Linked DNA regions of Homo sapiens: regions 1, 2 and 4 are each linked to region 3. The links are contacts of gene promoters, found by promoter capture Hi-C in blood cells and fetal thymus (Javierre and others, 2016). All regions are on one chromosome and are shown on one strand. Each heading gives the region's core, a stretch centred on a gene start or on the middle of the fragment in contact. The rest is flanking DNA. Distances are from core to core; before and after follow the strand shown. Region 1 overlaps TNKS1BP1 (tankyrase 1 binding protein 1). Region 2 has its middle 9.8 kb from the start of PRG2. Region 3 holds the start of ZDHHC5 (zDHHC palmitoyltransferase 5). Region 4 overlaps P2RX3 (purinergic receptor P2X 3).

Region 1 (3,486 bases), core at 816-3,315, 360 kb before region 3:
CCAAGGCTGTCTTCCACACTTGGAATCTTCTTCTCAAATTCCTCATCCTGTTGCTGGGCTTCCTCGGGGCTGAACCCAGAGCTCAGGGGTCTCGTTCCAAAGCTTCTGTCCTGGGCGTCAAGGGTCCTGGAGCTGCCACCACTGCTGTAGTCCCTTATCCAAGCGCTCTTCCCAAACTCCTGTTCCTGTGGCTCCGCAGCCCGGCTGCCATAGGTGCCGAGTGACACATCTCTCTTCTGAAACTCCCAGTCCTGCTCATCGGCATCCTGGCTGCTGTACCTACCATGGTGGTCCCTCTTCCCCAAATCTTGGCCCTGCTCGTTGGCATCTTGGCTGGCATAAGCACCCAGAGAATCTCTCTTCCCAAATTCCCAGTCCCCAAGGCTTACATCTCGACTACTGTAGGTACCCAGTGAATCTCTCTTTCCGAATTCCTGGTCCTGGAGTTCTGCATCCCGGCTGGAGTAAGTGCCCTGGGAATCCCTCTTTCTGAACTCCCAGTCCTGAACATCTGCCTCCTGGCTCCGCTGAGTGCCAAGCTGGGCTGGCTTTCCAACTACCCGGTCCTGGGCTGTGAGCACCCCTGGGGCAGACACTTTACTCTGGTCTTGGCTGCTGCTGGCCTCCATCTCCTCCTGGCCGATGCCACACCTGCTGGCCCACTCCCTGGTGCTCCCTTCCCCTGCTCCTTGCCCATACTTGCTGGTCCAGTCCCTCTCTCCGAGACCTGGGTCTCCTCTAGGGCTTGCACCCCCAAGGCCATAGTCCTGAGAAGCACCTTGACACCAGCTGGAAGGACTGAAACTGCTGGGCTGTGGGTCTCCTGTGATCCCAAATTCACTCTGCAGATCTTTCTGGGACCAGCCAAGGAGTCCCTGGGAATAAGAAAAAAAAACAGACAAAGAAACAACGATTAGATTCCATCAGGGTGGGAGTCAATCCAGCAGAGTCAGCGCTGCCTAGTGCCTGAAAGCCCCACTTTGGCAACAGAAAGCTGTGTGACCTTGAGCAAATCACTTAACCACTCTGGGTCTCAGCGTCCTCATCCTTAAACGAGGATAATTCCTATTGCATGGGGCTGGTGTGAGAGGATTAAATGAGATCATTTAGACCAAGCACTCAGCATAGTGCTTGGCATGCAGTGGGCACTCAATCGATGGTCCCATGGTCATGTTTACAACTCTTGGGCAATACTTGGCTAACAGCCAGGAGAGGAGTGGTCTTCACACAGGAATGGCAGGCAGTGCACTTTCCTTTTGATTAGGAGAGGTCAAGATTCAAAGCCTCTCTGCGACTTCCCTTGCAAGGCAAGGTTCCAACACCAATGACAGCTTTTCCAGCCCGTCCTCCCCCATGCCCCATCTGACCCCCATCCTCCTATAAGTACCCAGGCCCTTCTTCCCCAGCCAAAGTGCCGTCTGCTCAATCTTCCCCAGGAAGACCTCTCAGCCCTCACCCTGGCCCAGGAAAGACAAGAGGGGCAGCCTCTGGCACAGGGGAAAATCCCAGCCAGGGCTTCTTGCACCCCACCCCCCACCTCACGCTCCCTGACTCACCCTTGTGGGCGGGAGAGCCCTGGGCTCAGGGCTTCGGAGCCGGCCAGCCTCATCCCTCAGCGCAGCGTTGGCCAGCAGCCGCTCCAGGATAGACATGCTGGCCTCCCCATCCCCAGGCTGGGCCATGGCCCCCCGCCCCCAACCCGCCTTGGGGCTGCTGGGTGCGGCCAGCCGGGCGCAGGGATAGAGCTGGGCTGCTACCCGCGCTGGGACCTGTCCGACGGCTCTGGCGCTGGCTCTCCCTCACCCTGGCCCTGCTCCCTCCGGAGCAGCTGCAGCTTGGGCAGCCCCGCCCAGGAGCCAGTTGAGTCACCCACATCCCGGGACAGACACACCTACTACAGGAGTCAGCTTAACCCCTTCCTGCTCCTCCTTCTCCCCGCCCCGCAGCCCCCAGAGGCCCCCTGGCTCCTCCTTTCCTGCAGCCCCGCCCCTTGCAGCCCAGGCCCGGCTTGAGAAATAAATTTCGAAAGCCACCTGGCCCCCGGCCCTTAAATTCAGAGGCAGCCTGGTAGGAGAAAGGGCACTGGGCCGGGAAACGGCGCTGGCCCGGGCCCAGCCACCAACTTGCTGGATAACTGCACAAGGCTAACCTCCTCTGAGGCCCAGCTGCCTGTCTACAAAGCAGGTCTGGAGCTCAATGTTAATAACGTTTGTAAAAGCCAACACTTCTTAAGCACTTAGGATGAGCCAGGCACTATTCTTAGCACTTTAGACATTACAGCTCATTGAACCCTTGCCAACACCCTTGGAGGTAGAACTCATCTTGTTATCCACATTTTACAGATGTGGAAACTGAGGCAGAGGGCAGAAAAGTCACTCTTTTAAGGTCACACCTGGGCAAAGGAAAGCAGAGCCAGGAGATGAACCCAGGAGCCCACGCTCTAAATGGCTACACTATTTTGCCTTGAACGATATTCCCATAATGAGAGACTGAATACTCAGCACCTGCCACGCACTGTGCCGAGAGCTTTCCACCTCGATTTACCCACAATATAACTCTAAGAGGCCAATGCTACTATCAGGAAAGCACTCTGAAGCCCAGCAGTTAAGGTACGTTCTTCCCAAGACCAATCAGCTAGCGATTGCTGGAGCTGGGATAGAGCCTCACACGAAACCCCACACACACACCGTCCTGTGTGGCTCTGCAGAGCTACAATCTGCAGGTCCACAGCTGCCTTGCTCACTACCACAGCCCAAGCTCTCGACATGTAAAATCCATGTTCAAAGAATGAAGCCCACCCAAGCCCTGGCCTCTGTCCCCAGAAGTCCCATTCTCCCTATGCCCATTCTCACCTCAGAGCAGGTACTTGGGGACTGTGTGTCCTTCAGCTCAGCTCCAGCTCCCCGCCTTGCACCGCCACCACTGGGTGGTGGTGAAGCCAGGAGGTCGTCCAGCCAGCGGGAGCTGCTTTCAGGGCCTGGAGGCTCGGGGGATGCCCTACACAAGTCTTGAGCCTCTGTCCTGGCTTGGGTGGTCTCAGCCCGGGCTAGGGTCACGGCCTCCTCCTCAACAGGCAGTGCCTGTCCAGGCTCAGGGGCATCAGCAAAGAGAACACAGGGCTGGTCAGGGGCTGCTGGCTGCTCCTGCCCCAGGACTGGCTCCAGGATGGGCAAGGCTGCCTCCCTGGTAGCCAGGGGGAGAGGGGACTCCTGTCCAGCCAAGGGCTCCTGCGACTCGTATCTCTCCTCTGCCTGCTGCAAAGGTAATCCAGGTGTGCCCTCAGTTGTAGGCAGGGGCTCAAGGGGAACAGCTGGGAATTGAGGTTGACTCTCCCCATCGCCCTTCTGGGTGAGGGACATGCTTGGATCATCCCCCTGCACCCAGGAACTTCCTGACCCACTTGGAGCTGACCCAGCCCCTTGCCCCTGCTGAGACACTCCTTCTTCCCTGCTGGAAACGGCCAAGTTGCCAGCCTCAGCAGCCTCG
Region 2 (4,484 bases), core at 1,342-3,841, 270 kb before region 3:
GTTAGTTATAGTGCTTTCTTCACCATCTCATCCAGCCACCCATCCCCATTGCCTCTGCCACTTTCCTAGTCACCTGCTGACCGTTTTTCACCTGGATCATTTCAGTGGCTCCCAAATTACTTTCCCTGCCTCCAGTCTTACCACCCTCCTCCACCTCTGATGCACTGTCTACAAGCAGCCAAAATGAGCTTTCTAAAACCCAGAGCTAATCACACCAGCACTTTCCAATTACTCCTTCTTGCTCTCAGGCACAGTCTCCTTATGTTTTAGCGCCTACTTACCTAAACCTCTCAACACTGTGGACATTTTTGACTGGATACTTTTTTGTTACAGAGGCCTGTCCTGTGCATTGTTAGATGTTTAGCAGCCTCTCTAGCCTCTACCAAAAAGATACTAGTAGTACCTTCTCGGCTGGGCTGTGACAATCAAAAAATGTCTGCAGACATTACCAAATGTCCCCTCTGAGGCAAAACTATGCTCAGTTGAGAACCACTTCTTGACAACCTCAATTCTCCCCCTCACCACACACACACAGTGCTCCAATCATGTTGAACACCCTGCTATTTTCCTAACATGCCATGATCACCCATATTTTGTCACATGTCATTTCATCTGCCCAGAATGCCCTTTCCTCCCTAACCACTGCGCTCTTTCCTTTTCTTCATCGAAGTTTCAGCCAAGGATCACCTCTTCCAGGAAGCCTGCCTTGGCTCTCCCAGAGAAAGGTAGCAAGGACACTAATCAGGGCTTCTCTCTAGTCCAGCCCTCTTCCCACCTCATTGTAGCAATCTTCTTGCTGTTTCCCCAGTAGAGCCAGAGCCTTGCTTCCTTCACCTGTGCCTCTCTGGTCCTGCACAGTTCTGGAAACACAGTACAGGCTCAATTCATGTTTGCTGTGTAAGTGAATAAATGAAGAAAAGCAATTTTTGTTTAAGCTTGTCAAAGATTGAGTTGGGCTCCCTGAAATGAGATCTTAGGCAGAAATTTTAATAACGATAACAACAGCAGCAACTAATATTTAGGAAGTGTTTCTAGGTGCTAAGTATGTTAAGTGCTCCATATTATTCAACCTTCTAAACAACTCTAGGACACAAGTGCCATTAAACTACCTAAATTACAGACAAACAGCTGATCCTGGGAATGGTTAAGTCATTTTCCAGGTAAGTGTCAGAGCCAGGATCCGAATGGAGCGGCTGCACTCTTGTCCGTGACTCACTTCCCCTGTGGTGGTGAATAACTAGCACAAAGCCATTTACATACGTTGTTTAATGTAACTTACCCTGTAAGTTGCATGGGGCAGGTGATGATTTGGAAAGCACAAAGAATGTGGTCCTCGGATGTTAAAAGACCCTGGTTAAAAAATAAAAATAAAAAAATAAAAAAATAAAAGACCCTGGTTCCATTCTTGGCTCTGCTGCCCATAAGCTGGACCTCCTTGGCAGTTCCCTCATCCCCCCAGTCTCCTGTTGCTCATCTGTGAGTTGTTAAGGATGACCACCTCACAGATGTTGCAGGGCTTGAGGAGGACCAATTGAAATGTGGTGGTACAATAATCTACTAAGTGCCTGAAACATGGTGCCCCCAACAAACAAACAACAATGCTGAATATTGTCCTATGTTAGGGATAGAAAAAGCAAGGCTTGGAAAACTTAAGTGATAGTCCAAATTTTGCATGCCAGCAAACGGTGGAGCTTGGAAAAGAACTCTAAGTCTTCCGTTGGCCATGAGGAGAAATTTTCTGAGCCTCTTCTGCATAAGTGCTCATTACCGTGTGAGACACATCACAGTCCTCACCATCAGGGAACTAGAAGCTCAGAGCTGGGATTGTAGGTTGAATCTCTCTCTCTCTCTCTCCCTCTCCTCTCTCTCTCTCTCTCTCTCTCATGTCCAGTATTTACTGAGCCTCCATTCTGTGCTAAGTAGGGTACAAAGTTCTCAGGATACAGTAGGCAATACAAAATATACAGCTGCTGCCTGCGTGGAGTTCCCAAATGAAAGCCTAATGGAAGACACAACTGAATATTTTTAAAATCCTATGATGGTACATTAAACTGCAACTGTGACAAGCTCTATGCCAGAGAGGTACCTGGTGCTATGAAAACCAGTACTAGGTAACAGTACAGAAAGGAAGGGATATCTGAGCTGAGAACTGAGGGAACTATAGGAGTTAGCTATAGGTTGGGTAGGACACATTCCACAGAAACACAATAAAACTGTTTCACAGCCAGGTGCGGTGGCTCATGCCAGTAATCCCAGCACTTTGGGAGTCTGAGTTGGGCAGATCACAAGGTCAGGAGTTTGAGACCAGTCTGGCCAATATGGTGAAACCCCGTCTCTACTAAAAATACCAAAAAAAATTAGCTGGCGTGGTGGCACATGCCTGTAATCCCAGCTACTCGGGAGGCTGAGACAGGAGAATTGCTTGAAGGCAGAAGTTGCGGTGAGCCAAGATCGTGCCACTGCACTCCAGCCTGGGTGACAGAGCGAGACTCTGTCTCAAAACAAACAAACAAAAAAACTGTTTCACTGTCATGTAGCGTACTTGACCTGTAATGTGATTTTGCGTATGTAATAAAAATTAGTAGCTGCCATTAATGAAGGACCTACTATGTGCCAGGGCCGAGCACTTTTCACGTAGAGCCTTACTTATCCTTATTACTCTCTGAGGTAGGCATTATAGGTAGCAAACAAAGGCACTAAGATGCTTCATGACTCCTACAAGGACACCCAATCTAAGAACGTGATAACAGGACCCAGATCTGTCTGCCTGCACTCTTCCCCAGCCCAGGGCTCTGAAAGGAATTCATAGCCCTGCCCCTGGTAATTGACATTTCTGTGTGCTTGGATTCTCTCCATTGACTGCTGGGGAGACAAAAGTATCGCAAAAATTGAATATGAAGATTGATATTTTTCATTGACTTTGGCTTAAGATTTGGGGTAACTCGAAAGTCTTTTTTTTTTTTTGCCTTTGAAGTTTTCCCATTCCAAGTAATAAAGAACTTGTGTTGTTTTGTTCGGTGGAGACAAGCTAAAGCGAGTGCTTGCAGGGAGGTTTTCTATCCTGAACTATAATAGTGGCATTCCAGACTCCACAAGGTGTGAAGTGTGGTGCACGCTCTGAAGGGCACACAGATGTTACTAATAACACCTGCAGCCACACACAGCACACCTGCTACAAGCCAGGTGGTTTATATTGATCACTCACTACATGCCAGGTCCCCTTTGAAGTGCTTGACGTTCATCCAGCCACTCAATCCTTACAACTCTATAAAGTATTCCTATTGTTACTCCATTTTACAGATGAAGCAGCGGAGGTACCAGGAATCTAAGTGCCAGAGCTTGTGTGGGGAGGAACTGGAAGTTGGTCTTGGACAGTCCATCTCCAGAGCCCAAGCTGCTGCTACCTTTTATTCCCAAGGTTACTCTCTAGTCCTTGCAACAAACTGCCGTGGTACCTATTTCCATTACAGGTGAGGAAACTGAGGTTCAGGGTGGTTAAGGTCACACAGCTGATCAGTGCCTGCAAAGCCCAGAGCTTTCCCACACACCCTACTGCTCTAGCCAGCCTGCAGGCCTGGGAGGTGACACTGGACCCAGGAAAGAATATGCTGAGGGGCCTGTGAGCAGATGTTTGGGATTAGAACATAAAAACTCAAAATTGGGCGGGCCACGGTGGCTCATGCCTGTAATCCCAGTATTTTGGGAGGCCGAGGCGGGAGGATCACGAGGTCAAGAGATCAAGACCATCCTGTCCAACATGGTGAAACACAGTCTCTATTAAAAATACAAAAATTAGCCGGGTGTGGTGGTGCACACCTGTAGTCCCAGCTACTCAGGAGGCTGAGACAGGAGAATCGCTTGAACCGGGAGGCGAAGGTTGCAGTGAGCTGAGATCGTGCCACTGCACTCCAGCCTGGCGACAGAGAGAGACTCTGTCTCAAAAAACAAACAAACAAACAAACAAACAAACAAAACACCTCAAAATCCCTGGAGGGTCTGGTGTGAACACAAGCCATGGTCCTGGGTTTAAGATACACTCAGACATTGTCCTGTCTGTGAACTCCTTATCACCAGAGGACTGGATCTTATGCCTGGAAGCCTGGATGGAAAATGTTCTTCCCAAAGAATGTCAGAGGAATGACTCACTGCTGTGCCCATGTCACACCTGAAGCATTTGAGAGTCATCAATCCCCTGAGGGGCTGGCAGGAAAAAGGGCTCCTAGACATAACCACTGGGACCATCACTCCAAGCTTTGAATTTGGGGAGGACTGCTTGAGCCTGGGAGGTCGAGGCTTCAGTGAGCCATGATCTTGCCACTACACTCCAGCCTGGGTGACAGAGTGAGACCCTATCTGAAACAAACAAACAAACAAACAAACAAAACCACGTGGCAGGAGGAAGGCTCTCAGGGCAGAAAGATGAGAGCTGTGCCTGTGGGTTGTTTCTCCTGCTTACTCCCTCTCGCCCATTTTCCCTAGAAATC
Region 3 (4,500 bases), core at 204-2,703:
AATGCTAGTGTCAGAACCACAGTAAAGCCAGCAACATTTGAGACCAAACCCGAGGACAGTCCTCAGGATTTTACAGGTGAGGGGCCTCGGCTTCAGGGAAGTGGCTTGTGAAACACCTTTTTGAGGGACCATTATGTAATAGCTAGAGTTGCTTTCGAAAAAAGAAATAGCCTCGAGCCGAATGGGGAGAGAACATGGGGCATTGCTATTGGGTTCACAGCTGTCTTGGGCTAATCAGGGCAAAGCGTAGCACTATGACCTATGCAGAGTTAGCTCGCCAGGGACAGTAGCTATTCTAGAGAACCTTTTGCTTTTAGCTTTGTATTCTAGGATTGGGTGAGGTGAGGGATGCGGGCGCCCATCCCACGTGTGACAGTGGGAAACTAATGGAATTCAGGGAGTTCACTTCCCGGCTCGCACTCCGGGGGCGGGAGGGTGCTGCCACCGCCTCAGGTCGCGCGCTCCTTAGGCTTCCCTCTCACGGTTAGCGCTACGGCTCCAAGGCTGGCGCCTGCTCTTCTTCATCTCCCTCCCCGGCCCTTGGCAGGAGCCTCGCCCTACATTGGCTCTTCAAGTCCGGGCGTCCCCTTCATGTGGGAGACACAGCCCAGACCATTCCATCGCCCTGGATTCTGCCCGGACCAGCGACCTCGCCGGACTGAAGATTTCTCCAGCAAGATTGTTTTAAATAAAGTTTTTGCCATCAAAAAAAAAAAAAAAAAAAAAAAAGGAGATGGGAAGGAGAAGAGGGAGGCCTAGTCGCCAAATGGTTGGCCAATCCGCCGCGAAGGGGCTGAAGCAGGAAGCGGCGATAGTCGTCGGTAATTGGCTGCGCTGGAAGCCTGTCTGGACTGTACCACCTCAGTAGGAGAGGGGTTGCTGAATTCGAGAAGGTAGCTGCTTGCTTTTGAGTACTTCTAGTACACACACATAATTCTTTTCTTATTTCCGGGGGTTTTTGCTTGGATTCAGTGGGAATACAACAGGACGCAGGAGAAGGGAAGACTCGCCTGGCCATTTCCTCATTCCTGACTCCTGTGCATTAGGCCAATCCTTGTCTCTTAGTTGTCCCCGCAACCCCACGGCCTTACGTGCGCGCTCTCGTCTTCTCGCGTGCGTACGTCGTTGTGTTGCTGCAGCCAATCAGGCCGCGAGGTCGCCGCGGTCGCCAGGGTTCGCGCGCACGCCCCAGATCGGAGTCGGGGTGGGGGCTATGGGTGAATGGGAGAGTGAGCGGGGTTGGGCGCGGCAGCGCGAGCCGCATGAATGAGACAAACGTGCGCCGCGCGAGACGTCGCGCGAGCCCGGACTAGGGAGCCAATGGGAACGCTGGAAGGGTTCGAGACCCGGCACTGAGGGCAACGGCCGCGCGCCGGCTCCGAGACGAGCGACGCCTGGCGGGAGCGCGCGGCAGCGGGGCGGGCGTGGAGCGTGCGGGGGCCGCGCGCTGCTTCTCTGAGGCAGGACGGCACTGCCGGGAGGCGGCGGTGACAACGACGGCGGTGGTGACGGGCACCGGGCTCGCGGGTGAGTGCGGAGGACACCGGTCCCTGCGGAACCGGAAGTGCCGTACCAGCGAGGTGGGAGGGGAGGGTGACCTCTAGGGAAGGGGGACCGAAGACGGGGAGGGTATTAAGGCCCTATTTCTCCTCCGGGCCGGGTCTTCCAACCGCGGCGGGACCCATGGGCCTTGGAAACGGACGACGAGTAGAGGCCGGGGATCCACGACCGCCAGGGCTCGGAACGGGTTAGAGACGGCCACTCAGCTCGAGACCGCGGTCCCCGGTGCCTGGCGCCCAGCCGCCGCCCCTTCCGCCCCCGGCCCTGCGCCCTCGGGCTCTGCGGTCCCCGCAGCCCGCTCTCTCAACCTCGGTGGGCCTGGCCGCCGTGGATTCCTTCTTTTCGGTTTCAGCGGTCGTCAGCCCTGCCCCAACGGGTGATTCTCCTTTCCCCAGTCCCGTGGTGGGGACCGGGTGCTGTTTCCCTTTTACCGCTCTGCGGTTCGAGTCCCTCGCTCCACTCTGCTGATACTTATTTTGGCTCAAGCTTCATCCTGTTACCTGTTCTCTCTCACCCGTCCGCTTCCTCCTCCTACCGCCACCAGCCGAGTGCTCCATGCGTTTAGTACTTTGTACTTTTTAAAGTGGAGCCCGAATGCGTTTGTCAATATTTTACCTATATTTGGGGCAGGCAGGTGGAAAGTGTTTTACCCACTTGGCCAAATGAAACACTGAAATAAGAAGTAAGAAAGTTGCTAAAAGTTAGGAAGGCAGTTGTAGGATCACATATACGTTATACGCTAGACTATTTTTTGCCTTGGATTCTTCACTTCCTGGTTAATGCCATCTTGACCAAGTTGATCTAACATTTGCATATCATCCTTCTATCTCAGTATACCTCTGTCCTGGATCAAATATCTTCAGAATGCTCATTATCACCCATTGTATAAACTTAATGTTTACAAAATTATATTGCCATGTATTTTGCTACCTCGGTATATAATGATAACACCCACATTAAACTTCTTGGCTCTTTCTCCCATACCTTGACATGTGAATTATTCCATGGTACCTCCATTACTGTGCATTTAGATTTACTCTATTGTACTGTTACACCGCTTATTTCAACAAAAAATAGTTGTGTTGTCCTTGGTACTGCTGGTATCCACCTATTTAAGGAAATACCTGTATTAAACCTTATTAAAGCCTTCAAACCACATATCCTGTATTGTTTGTTTTACATATACATATTTCCATTTCATAGTTTACTCTGTGCCTCAATATGGCATACATATTACTTTTTTTCTCATTTTTGAGACGGAGTCTGGCTCTGTCGCCCAGGCTGGAGTGCAGTGGCTGCTATCTTGGCTCACTGCAACTTCCACCTCCCGGGTTCAAGCGATTCTCGTGTCTCAGCCTCCCTAGTAGCTGGGATTTCAGGCATGCCCCATCACGCCCTGCTCATTTGTTTGTATTTTTAGTAGAGACAGGGTTTTGGTATGTTGGCCAGGCTGGTCTCGAACTCCTGACCTCAAATGATCCGCCCGCCTCGGCCTCCCAAAGTGCTGGGATTACAGGCGTGAGCCCCCGTGCCCAGCTGGCATACATATTCTTGTATACTTTTTTGATACTAGTATGGATTCAAACTGTTGACTCTGATGAACCATACTCACCCTTGTGGTTTCATCCTAGTATCTGCAGCACATTCTTTTGCTAAGAATTGGTTCATCTTTATTTATACCCAATAAATTGTTAGGTTTTTGATTTCCCTTCTACTGTGTAGCCCCCAAGCATCTCAGATGCTGTTCTCTTTTGTGTTCCCAGTATTATACTCCCAAAATTGCATGGCCTTTCATGACTCTGTATTACTATGTCAATATTAGTCCATGTGACTTTTTTCCTGTGGAAAATATATGAAACAATATATAGTATCTAAATGATATTCTACTCTAGATAAAATTTAAGTAGTATAATTTTCCATCTTTTCTAGTCTTTGGGATTTTGAGGGAAAAGTTTGCTTTAATAGTACATATTGGCTGGGCAGAGTGTCTCACACCTGTAATCCCAGCACTTTGGGTGAGGAGGCAGATCACCTGGAGGTCAGGAGTTCGAGACCAGCCTGGGCAACATGGTGAAACCCCATCTCTACTAAAAATACAAAATTAGCTGGGTGTGGTGGTGCCCTCCTGTAATCCCAGCTGCTCGGGAGGCTGAGACAGGAGAATTGCTTGAATCCGGGACTCGGAGGTTGCAGTGAGCTGAGATCACACCATGCACTTCAGCCTGGGTGACAGAGGGAAACTGTGTTTCAAAAAAAAAAAAAAAGTACATATTGTCTACAAATCAAGAGTTTGCTTTTGTTAACAAAGTTACTGAGGCCTACATTCCAAATGTTAGGCTTCCATTCCTGTAGGAAACTGAGAGTTAAATAATCATTAAATCAGGGACTAGAGAGGATTTATGTTTTCTAGGACTATAACAGTTTCTTAGAATCTTTTGGCGCTCACTGTATTCTAATACTGCTGTTTGGCCCTCTGAAACCCTAATTTTAAAGAGAGAAATGAATCGTAAGGGAAGGCACCTTTGCCTTCCATGCCATAGGTGAGAGAGGAAGTGGTACATTATAGGGCACATTTATATTTTGTTATCTGAATCTTCTGATTTTTTTTTTTTTTTTTTTGAGACAGAGTCTTGCTCTGTTGCCCAGGCTGTAGTGCAGTGGCTCACTGCAACCTCCGCCTCCTGGGTTCAAGTGATTCTCCTGCCTCAGCCTCCTGAGTAGCTGGGACTACAGGCGCCCGCCCGGCTAATTTTTGTATTTTTAGTAGAGAAGGGAATAAAACTACTTTCTTTTAAAATTCTAACTTAAAATTTTTGGCTTGCAGATTCCAAGTTATCATCTCTGGGCAGGTAGTGGATGAAAAGGTAGAAAGGGTTTGTGTCACCAGAGGGGCATGTGACCTCTTGAGTTCTGAACCTGAGGTGATTCAGTGGAATGTCC
Region 4 (4,778 bases), core at 1,030-3,529, 320 kb before region 3:
AGGCCTGGGCTCCGGAAGGCGGGGAGAGATTGCACAAGACGATCTTCCCATGAACCCTGGGCTGACCTCTCTCTCTGCTCCTCCCCAGGGGAAACCTCCTTCCCAACCTGACAGCCAGGGACATGAAGACCTGCCGCTTCCACCCGGACAAGGACCCTTTCTGCCCCATCTTGCGGGTAGGGGACGTGGTCAAGTTTGCGGGGCAGGATTTTGCCAAACTGGCGCGCACGGTGAGGACCTAGCCATTCTTCCGCGACCCCAAACTCCCCACCTTCAGCCCTTTCCCAGATTTCAGGGCCCTTTGGCCGGCACTGGCCAGGAGCCGCCGCGAGACAGCGCCACCTGGTGGAAGCATCCCAGGCCGCCACTGGCTTTGTGCCTGAATCCTTTCTGCTTTCCCCGCGCAGAGCGATCTTGCCCCCCGCCTCCGCCGAGTCCACCTTCCTCAAGCCTCAGTTTCCCACTCCCATCTTCACACTTCACCTCAGGCAAAGGCCTTAGATCTGTAATAAGCCCCAAACGACGGGAAAGTAGACCTGTGGCCACTTTCTCCTGTGTTGTAGCTAAAGCACTGAAGATCCCAAAATTAGGACTCAGAGGCTCCAATGTTCGCATCCGAGCCACAACCTTTTTTTTTTTTTTTTTTTTTGAGACAGAGTCTCGATCTGTCTCCCAGGCTAGAGTGCATGGCGCGATTTCGGCTCACTGCAACCTCCGCCTCCCAGGTTCACGCCATTCTCCTGCCTCAGCTTCCGGAGTAGCTGGGACCAAGCCCGGCTAATTTTTGGTATTTTTAGTAGAGTCAGGGGTTCGCCGTGTTAGCCAGGATGGTCTCGATCTCCTGACCTCGTGATCCGCCCGCCTCGGCCTCCCAAAGTGCTGGGATTACAGGCGTGAATCACCGCACCCGGCCACCACAGCACTTCTTTACTGAGCAGTATATGACATGTCACTTTCCGTTCTCCCTGCCTCCGTCTCCCACCTGGAGGATGGGAGGAAATCATTTGTCACCACCTCCACCCCACCCCCACCCTGGCCCAGAGCAGGGAGTCAGAGGGCGAGGGGAAAGCTCATACCCGGCCCGTTTCTTCAGGGGGGAGTTCTGGGCATTAAGATCGGCTGGGTGTGCGACTTGGACAAGGCCTGGGACCAGTGCATCCCCAAATACTCCTTCACCCGGCTCGACAGCGTTTCTGAGAAAAGCAGCGTGTCCCCAGGCTACAACTTCAGGTAATTCCCTGTCTCCTGGGACACCAGGAGAAGAAGGTGCGGGCTGTTAACGGCAATGTTTATTGGGGAGACAAGATCCCACATCCATCCACCCACCCCTGGCCCCAAGTCCCACCTCAGGTTTCATTTCAAATCAGGAAGGACTCTCTAACAGCCATTAGGATCTAGCTGGTTGTCCTGGGAGACAGTGTCTCCTTATCACTGAAGGGGACCACGCCAAGGATTCCTGCTGCAGGTCAGTAGTTAGAAGAGAGGGCCAAGGTCTCTTGAAATGCTAGGGTTCTGCGATTCTTTGCCTGTTCCTAACACTGGCCTGAAACTGTGACGTGCTTAAGTGACTTCCAGATAGGCCCATTCCCTGCCCTGGGCCTGAATTTTCTAAGGTTTCTCGCTCTACAAAGTAAGGGTGATAACTGGTATCATTTTACATTTTACAAGATGGCAACTTTGCATTTCTCTCCGCAAACGTGTGTCACCAGTAGCAATTATAATTGTCTCTGGTTCTTCAATGCCTCTCCAAACAAGAACTCAGACCAGTCTTTAAATATCATCCCAATGGCTTTGAGACTTCAGGGATCTTTTCGGGTTTTGTTTTGTTTTGTTTTTCCATTTTGAAGAAAGGGAGAGAGGAATTAGAGGACAAACTGTTTGGAAGCAACTGAAAGCGCTTGAACAAGCCATTTGTCTTCTCCCATCCTAATTTCCCCACCTATGAAATTGTGATAGTACCACTGTGATCTTCAGGATTCAATTAACCAATGTGTGAAAAGCTTCAGCTTTCTGTTTTGTTTCTCTCTTCTTTTTTTTCTGAATCATTCATTTATTGATTCATCCATTAAACACATACCAATTGTCTACTACGTGCTGAGGACCGTACTCAGTTATCTTAGGTTAGCAGTTCTCAAAGTGTAGACTACAAGGTCAACACTACTTATTAAAGGTTTTGTTTTCTTTTTAATTGATAAATAACAATTGCATATATATGGGATACAATGTGATGTTTTGATACATGTATACATTGTGGATTTCCCCCAGTTTTTGAAGATCCTGAAGTTTCTGGCAGGGCCCTGTTTAAGTACACAGCATTATACACTAAACAGCTTAAATAGAACAAATAGGGAGTGACCAGGGGAAAAAAATACATAAGAATATATTTCATTTACATTTGAACATAAGAATGTATATTTGAATATATTCAAATAAATGTTACTCAAATTTCCTTTGTTGAGGTGGTATTCTCTGATACAATGGCATACGTAAGCCAAAAATAATCATTTCACCTTTTAAAATTGTTAATTTATAACTTAAAAAAATAATCACCCACCCCATTAAGCTTTATATTTAATAGTTTAAAATATACATGTATATTCTCTGGAAAGAAGAATCTTTAAAAATTGAAGTACTTTCATCATCAACTCCAAACTTTAAAAAAACCATAGGAAACAACACATATTTTAAAGTAGGTTAAAAATACTGTGCGGCTCACTGGCAGAAATTGGCATATTTATTCAGTTGGTATATCACACTGAGATCAATACAAAGGATATTTGTATGGTGGCTTAAAATAGTAACATATTAATAAAATTCTCATGATCTAAAATGCAAGTTTTCATCTTCATAACTTCCCTTTGGCCATTGGGAATTCTTTAATCCTCCAAATAACTCATTTGGCAGAAAAGCTTATGAAGAATGTGAATATTATAAAGACCCCCAACTACTGATATCGTACAGTTTTAGAACAGCATCTCTCATCTAAATAAGAATTGGTCTGGAGTTCTTTATCTCCAATTTATTGCACTGTGGCTGCCTTCCCTCCCTCCCCACCTGAGCACAGAAGGATGCGGGATAGACCTGGTCCTAAATAAGCTTGGAGGGTATTTGGGGAGGCAGGACGGAATATCCCCAAAGACCCTGCCTGCATAATTCCCAGAGGCCTAAGAGAAACCACCCCCTCTTAGGATCTCAGATAATTGACTCCCCCAACAAAGTCCCCCAGGCCAGAGAAGAAGGAGGCAAAGCTGCTTAGTTTGACCCTTGTGATTTAAAAGTTTCCAGAGGGCCCAAGTAATAGCCCTGACATTGGGGGACATCTGATATCAGTGGCAAGCAGAGGGCTCTGCCCAAGCCCCTTCCCATCCCTTCACCTGGGTGCCCACCCACCACCCTCATGCAACCTCAAACTACTGGCACCCAAGGCTAAGCTAAGAGCCCACGTGTGGGAGGCTGCAAAGCTGTCTTTCTGAATGCTTGAATAAGAGAGAAAGGGTCACAAAGCCAGGTTCAGTGCGGGTCACAGTGCACTTTCTATGATATGGTAAGATGTACGCTGTTTTTTAGAATCTCACCAAGCTACTTATCAGTAGAAACCATACTAGTCACCCTGTGTGCAAAACGTTTTGTGTGCTTCAGCTCAGCATTCCTTGCATGCCCTACGAAGTAGATGCTACAATATCCCCCCCAACTTTATAAAGGAGAAGATGGAGTCTCACTGTTAAATAACATTCTCAAAGTCACAAAGCAAGCAAGAGGGGGAGCCTGGATTCAAAACATATTTCTTTGGATGATCTCCACCCCAGCCAGGAAGACTAGGGACATTTGTACTTGTTAATCCTCAGAAAAAAAAGCATGCCTATGTGGTTGACACTTTCATCCCAGCTTAAAAACAAAGAATCTAAGTTCCAAGGAGATTTCAAGACTAGCAGATGCTGGCAGCACAATTCATAGCCCGGCCTTTTGTCTCCCAAACAATTCATTTGCTGCTCCCTCCAACAGAGGCAGATTTTTCAACACCCCTACTGTTGCCATTTGCTCTGGAGGGAATGGAATTATTCAGCCAAGATTCGGCCGTGTTTGAATCTGCTAACTAAGACATCCAGAGGCAGCTAGAGATTCACATTTCCATCACTAATTACATTCGCAGCTCCCTTCCAAATGTCACTCCCCCCCCCCCGCCCCTATTTTTTGTAGCTCTTTGCCTGCAGAATCAGAGATTTTGAGAATTTATAGCTGTTGAAGTTCCCCTTGCAGTCACCCAGAGTAAGGCGGTCACTTTACAGATGAGGAAGCGGAAGTTCCAAAGGGGGCATCTTAGAGTAGCCTCAAAGGTCATTGGATCTCAACTCCTAATGTGACCCTTGTGATTTAAAGGAGTTTACGGACCCATGTAAGAGATTACAGGCCCATGTAATCACCCTGACACTGGGGGATATCTGATCTCCGTGGCAAGCAAAGTGGCCTGCTCCATTCATTGGAAAGGTGACCTCAAATTGAGCCAAAATGTGCCTCCCTTTAAATCCTCTCCAGTGTACTTGGTGCTGTCCATGCAAGTTAATCTTTATTTTTGTGATCCCCTAAAGATTCTGTTCTTCCCCTACCTGAAATTTAGTGGAGACATTTTATTTTTACTCCTTGGTCTGTTCTGCGTGGCTAAAGACTCCGTGGGCCGCTTTAACTTAGTATTTTTATGAAGCCTCTTTCTAAGCACACTGAGATTGCAGTTGGTGGGGTCATCTGGATTTCTAGCAGACAAAATGCAGCAATTTCTAAAA

Evidence for each region. Contacts are between HindIII fragments. The CHiCAGO score rates a contact against its expected background, and 5 or more counts as called.
Region 1: a fragment that was not itself captured here is called in contact with the fragment with the promoter of ZDHHC5 in region 3 in 1 of 17 cell types (fetal thymus); the score reaches 6.6 in fetal thymus.
Region 2: a contact is called between a fragment that was not itself captured here and the fragment with the promoter of ZDHHC5 in region 3, in 1 of 17 cell types (activated CD4 T cells). The highest score is 5.8, in activated CD4 T cells.
Region 4: a fragment that was not itself captured here is called in contact with the fragment with the promoter of ZDHHC5 in region 3 in 14 of 17 cell types (M1 macrophages, M0 macrophages, activated CD4 T cells and 11 more); the score reaches 13.3 in M1 macrophages.

What each region holds. Positions count from the first base shown.
Region 1 is chr11:57,309,682-57,313,167 of GRCh38, forward strand. It overlaps TNKS1BP1 (tankyrase 1 binding protein 1), which reads right to left. Exons shown (of 12, transcript NM_033396.3): 5 at 2,853-3,486; 6 at 1-875. Among named protein-coding and RNA genes, the nearest start is that of TNKS1BP1, 14 kb to the right of the region's middle. RefSeq lists a silencer at 1,590-1,799. The HindIII fragment of the contact is 3,931 bases long and covers 101-3,486 here.
Region 2 is chr11:57,398,217-57,402,700 of GRCh38, forward strand. No RefSeq gene overlaps it. Among named protein-coding and RNA genes, the nearest start is that of PRG2, 9.8 kb to the left of the region's middle. The HindIII fragment of the contact is 3,316 bases long and covers 934-4,249 here.
Region 3 is chr11:57,666,661-57,671,160 of GRCh38, forward strand. It overlaps ZDHHC5 (zDHHC palmitoyltransferase 5), which reads left to right and starts at 1,454. Exons shown (of 12, transcript NM_015457.3): 1 at 1,454-1,527. RefSeq lists enhancers at 506-1,085, 1,255-1,894, 1,895-2,532, 2,086-2,155 and silencers at 1,286-1,525, 1,776-1,975. The HindIII fragment of the contact is 3,116 bases long and covers 1-2,044 here.
Region 4 is chr11:57,349,669-57,354,446 of GRCh38, forward strand. It overlaps P2RX3 (purinergic receptor P2X 3), which reads left to right. Exons shown (of 12, transcript NM_002559.5): 7 at 89-230; 8 at 1,094-1,230. Among named protein-coding and RNA genes, the nearest start is that of P2RX3, 14 kb to the left of the region's middle. RefSeq lists an enhancer at 161-660. The HindIII fragment of the contact is 563 bases long and covers 1,999-2,561 here.